2 separate regions of the Homo sapiens genome follow, and region 2 is linked to region 1. Evidence: promoter capture Hi-C in human tissues and cell types (Jung and others, 2019). All regions are on one chromosome and are shown on one strand. The core of a region is centred on a gene start or on the middle of the fragment in contact, and the rest is flanking DNA. Distances in the headings are between cores, read along the strand shown.

What was found. Contacts are between HindIII fragments. The study calls those that stand out against the background at their distance.
Region 2: a fragment that was not itself captured here is called in contact with the fragment with the promoter of ENHO in region 1 in 4 of the 25 tissues and cell types used here (adrenal gland, dorsolateral prefrontal cortex, heart right ventricle and 1 more).

What each region holds. Positions count from the first base shown.
Region 1 is chr9:34,521,727-34,524,426 of GRCh38, forward strand. ENHO (energy homeostasis associated) reads right to left here and starts at 1,264. Exons shown (of 2, transcript NM_198573.3): 1 at 1,051-1,264; 2 at 1-130. RefSeq lists an enhancer at 8-560 and silencers at 1,190-1,299, 1,320-1,689. The HindIII fragment of the contact is 6,325 bases long and covers 1-2,700 here.
Region 2 is chr9:34,262,724-34,265,423 of GRCh38, forward strand. KIF24 (kinesin family member 24) reads right to left here. Exons shown (of 13, transcript NM_194313.4): 9 at 378-449. Among named protein-coding and RNA genes, the nearest start is that of KIF24, 65 kb to the right of the region's middle. The HindIII fragment of the contact is 4,375 bases long and covers 1-2,700 here.

The DNA of each region.
Region 1 (2,700 bases), core at 14-2,513:
GTGGAGCTGCCTCAATGGTGAGGCCCATGCCGAGGCAGGACTCTGGTATGGCCGGCCTTCAGAGGAGGCTGTGCTGTCTGCACGCTCAGTGATTCCTGGGCAGTGGAGATGTCTACCTGCAGTCCTGAGCCTGTTGGGGGTATACAGTAAAGGAGAGGGTGGTGAGGAGGAAGGGTGGGGTGAGGCCTAGGAGGAGAGAGGTAGGGAAGAGAGCCTCCCTCCCACATTTCTGGCCTCCCTGGTGAAAGACCTTGGGTCCCAACAGGCTCGAATACCCCACAGAGCCATCACCCCCATCCACAGGCTTGGTTCTGGCCACCTGAATGAGTGTGTAGCCACCGTGGGGAAGCTGCAGTAGGCAGCCGTCATCTCATTCTCCTTAGACCTGGTGGGCATGCCCTGGTCCTGCCCACCAAGCTTGCAGCCCTCAAAAGCCCTCTGTTGGTGGGTGGGATCCAGGAAGCCCCCAGCCCAAAAGGATGGGGGTTGTAAGCAGCTCTGGTGTGGCCTGGGCGCCTCCTCTCTCCCAGGACTCCAGCCAGCCCGACCAGGAGACCTCCAGAGGCGCCAGCTTGCACAGAGGGAACTTTGTGGAGGCCCTGGCAGGCATGTGCAGGCTCTGTGCGTCCAGGGCTGTGTGCCTCTATGTGGGGCTGCCTCTCTGGGTCAGGTGTGTGTGTGTGTCTGGTGTCTCACTGTCCCTCCGTTGGATGTGTGCCTGTGCCTCTGCACACCCACCTCTGTGTGTGTGGCTGCCTCTCCGTGTGTCCCCATCTCTGAGTATGTCTCCTCTATGTCTCATTTCTCTACCAGTGTGTCTCTGTGTATCTCTGCATCAGTCTCTGTGTCTCTCTCTCTCTTCCAGGCTGTATCCCCCTCTGTTCCCATGGACGTGTCCCTATCCCCTTCTCCGTGGGGTCTTTTCGGTGGTTCCTGTGTCTCTGTCTTTGTGTTCGTCTCTCTCCGCGGCAGTGTGTCTCTGTCTCTTTATCTCCATCTTCGGGTCGCGTGTTCTTGGCCCCCGTGCCCGTGGCGGGAGGCCCTTCTTACCTGAGTTGAGCCTGGTGCGCGCCCGCGGGAGGGTCCGGGGCAGCGGGATGCTCGGCGCCGACTAAGGCTTGGGAGCCTGCGGGCGGGGGGCGGCGGGAGGTGGGAGACCAGCAGAGGCGACGTCCGCTCCCCCGGCCCTCCCCCTCGGCCGCGCAGCCTCCACCGGCCGCTCCCGCCGCGGCGCGACCGGGGCGGCCTCTGCCGCGGGCGGTCTGCGGTGAGCGGGCACCTCCTCCCCTTGGGGCCGCACCTCCTCCGCGGCCGCGGCGCTCGCTCGCTCGGCAGCGCTCGGGCGGCGGCGGCGGGAGCTGCGCGGTGTTCGGCTGGGCTCGGCTGCGTTCGGTTGGGCTCGGCTGGGCTCGGCTACGTTCGGCTGGGCTCGGCCGGGCTCGGCGGCCAGCAAAAACAGCGAAGAGCCTCGCCTCCTGGGAGGCCGGCGGCCTGCGGCCCGGGGGCGGAGCCATCCCAGCGCCGCTGCCGCCACTCAATTGGCTGGCCGAACCCCGGTTCCCGCACCATTGGTGGTGCGCTGAGGTGGGGACCAGCCCGCCTCTCGTGCCGGCGCGGGGCGGGAGGAGGGCCGAAGGAGTAGCTGGCCCTGGATCCTTCCCGGGAGAGGGGATGGGGTGGGGGCAAGGCCTAACCTCTGGTAGGGATTTCTTGCACCTTCTACACCTGGAAGGGTTGTACACCCCACATCCGAGAAAGGCCAAGGCCTCTGCATTTCCACATGTGAGGAAACCACCCCTCTGTATCTGGGAGAGGTCTCTTAAGTAAGTCATCCGGAGGAAGGCCCCGCGTCCCCACACCTGGCAGGAGACTGAATCTCCTCACCTAGGGAACCGCCTATAGTGCAGTCCCGCACTTCCCTCTGCCACCTGGGTGTGGACTCTGCATTCCCACTTTAGAGGGCCCCAGGTTCCCTGGCCCTAAGAGGTGTGAAAATCTCTGGCAACACAGGTTCTTTGGACACATTTACTGAGTTCCTACCCAGTGTTGGTCGCAGGCTTGCTGCCAGGCTGTTGGGGAGTCTGGGACAGAAATGGAGTGTCCTGAGCGATGGTTCTGCCCTGGCTGGAATAGGTGCAGGCGTGGTGGAAATCCTGCCTTGCCATCCTAAAAGCTCCCCTAAGAAGAAGATAGCTTGGACAGGAGCAGTGAGGTAGACCTTGTCCTCCCCGACCTTCACAGGCCAGTGATTGTCACCTATTCTGATCCGGCCGTCTTCTCATCCCGCTCTACATGCTCTCCTTGGAGGATCACATCCCTGAAGCTATATCATGAAGACTCCCAGTGCTCCCAAGTCTAGCCTTAACTTCTCTCTGGAATCCTAGACTCATATAACTAAGTGCCTACTGTAATCGGGGCAGTATTGATTCCTGGTTCACTTACTAACTTTGTGATCTTGAGCAAGTTACTAAATCTCTCTTAGCCTCAGCTTCCTCATCTGTAAAATGGTTGTAATGCTACCTCTCAGGGTTGTTATTCACTAATTTATAGCAGATCGATCACATCTCAGCAAATGCCAGCTGACACAACCCCCAGGACCATGTGACTAAGAGGCCCCTTCCCCCAATCCAATGCCATGAAATTCACATAAGACCCCTGTAAATCCAGATGCTATCTTGAAAGAAGAAAGGGAAGACTGAG
Region 2 (2,700 bases), core at 59-2,558, 260 kb before region 1:
GATGGCATATGCCTGTAGTCCCAGCTACCTGGGAGGCTGAGGTGGGAGGATTGCTTGAGCCTGGGAGGCAGAGGCCACAGTAAGCCAAGATCACACCACTGCACTCTAGCCTGGGTGACAGAGTAAGACCCTGTCTCAAAAACAACAACAAAAAGTTTTGATTTTTGAAGCATTTCAGATTTCAGATTTTTAGATTAATGATACTCAACTTGTAGACAGAGTTCCTGGATGGAATTTCACTCCTCTCCTTCTCTTTTCCCCACTGTGCCCAGCATCATGTCTTACTGACAGTGGATGCTCGACTGAATGAACAAATACATGAAATAAGGAAGAAAGGAATGAATCAGAACAAACTCAAGGCTCACATTTAACTTTACCTGAGTTAGTTTGCTTTGCCTGAAGGGAGTATGGGTGTGTTCCTGATCCAGTGCTCGGATACATTCCTTCAGCTGCAAAGTGGGAGAACAAGCACATCAAGTATCAAGTGCAAAGGGAGAGTAACAGACCTGATGCCGCCTCCACAGGAAGCTTGTTTTTCTTCAATAAACCACACTCAGACAATCCTCCAAAAGGAAGTCAAAATGGCCTGTAGTTTCCATTCAACAAGAGAAACCAAGCTAGATTGGGAAACACCATCCTGTGCTGCCTAGCTGAAGGCCTCCCAGCTTAGAGGCTGGGATCCTAGGACTGCCCCTGAGTTGACGGCGGGGAACAGACAGACGCTGGGACCTACCCTCAAGTCCCAGAGTTCAAGCTCATGTGGTGGTAGTTCTGGCTTGCTGGCTCCCTTTCTCTCCTCACATTCTTCCCAACTGTTGATGCACTTAAACAGACAAAATATCTATATCCACTTCCCCACTCCCTGCTCACACATGCACACCCGTTGGCGTAGAGTCAAGCATAGATTCAGATATAAACTATCTGAATGGGGTAGGAGAAATTCTAGAGCCAGAGCTAGAAGGAAACTGAGAAATCACCTAGGCCTACCCCCTCGTTTTATTTATTTTTTTCTTAATTTTTTTTTTTTTTTGTAGAGATGGGGGTCTCTGTATATTGTTGCCCAGGCTGGTCTCAAACTCCTGGCCTCAAATGATCCTCCTGCCTCAGCCTCCTGGAGTGCTGGGATTACAGCCAGCACTTTGACCACACACAATTAAAAACGACCCTTCATTTAAAAACAGCAGGGTCTGTGGCCCAAAGGCAAAGGAATGTTCCTTGCTCATGGCTGTACTCCCTCAGTGAGAAGCGCTCATTGGACATGATAAGGACAGCAGAGATCTGGATATGTGGACCTCCAGGGGAAACACTCCCATCAGAAACAGTGGTGGGGGTCGTGGGGGGCAAGATGAGGGAGGAGAGACCTTCTATTTCTGAGTGATGCATCTAGGCTAAAAGATAGTAAAAGAAAAGAAAAGGAGCTGGGTGCAGTGGCTCATGCCTGTAATCCCAGCACTTTGGGAGGCTGAGGCGGGCAGATTATTTGAGCTCAGGAGATCGAGACCAGCTTGGCCAACATGGTGAAACCCTGTCTCTACTAAAAATACAAAAAAAAAAAAATTAGCCGGGCATGGTGGCACATGCCTGTAATCCCAGTTACTCAGGAGGCTGAGAAAGGAGAAAAGCTTGAACCTGGGAAGTAGAGGTTGCAGTGAGCTGAGATCATGCCACTGTACTCCAGCCTGGGTGACAGAGCGAGACTCCGTCTCAAGAGAAAAAAAAAAAAAAGAGGGAAGAAGGTGGAAGCAATCCCTTGGAATTGCCACCAAGAATAGGTAGTTTGCCTCCAGAGTGTGCTATGGCTGTTCTTAGCAGCAGCCACAGATGCCCGCAACTGCCCTACCTCTATCCAAGAAGCTGCAGGGTATAAACAGGTGTGAGGAAATTTCCTCTTTTATTAAAAATCTATCCAGTATTCCCCAACTTTAGCACTGAGAAGATTCTCCACTGAGAACGAACAAGTAATCAAACCCTGTTCCTCACAGACTCAAATTCAAGCGTGGCCACCAATCCCTACAAGCTTTTTTTCTTTTTTTAAATAAAAAAAGTTTGGCTCCCTCTCTCACCCTCCCAACTTACCCCTCATGAAGTCTGGAAAGAATGTACCTACCTGGAGACTTCAGTTCTGATAAAAAATAAGTAAATAATGTGGAGCAGCACAAGGCAGCATATACAACTGGAAAAAGGAATGAGGAAGAGCTCTATGTACAGTCATGCAGTGATCTTGAGGATGCCGTTAAGTGACAAAAGCGAAGTGCAAAATAGTGTTGAGAGTATGTTAGCATTTTTTCTAAGAAAAGGGGTGAGTGCAAACATATATATAGACAGAAAAATGATTTTACAAGGGGAGGAAGGTAACAAGGTTGAGAGTACAGGGATGGAAACTATACTTCTTTGAATGTGGCTTATTTTACAATTTTTACTTTAAAACCACATAATTTTTTTTGCTTTTTGCTGTTTGTTTAAGAGATGGGGTCTCACTTTGTATCTCAGGCTGGAGTGCAGTAGCACAATCACAGCTCACTGCTGCCTTGAATACCTGGACTCAAGTGATCCTCTCACCTCAGCCTCCCAAGTAGCTTGGGTTACAGGTGCGCACCACCACACCCAGCTAATTTGTAAATGTTTTGTAAAGACAGGGGTCTCCCTGTGATGCCCAGGCTGGTCCTGAACTCCTGGGCTCAAGTGATCCTCCTTCCTTGG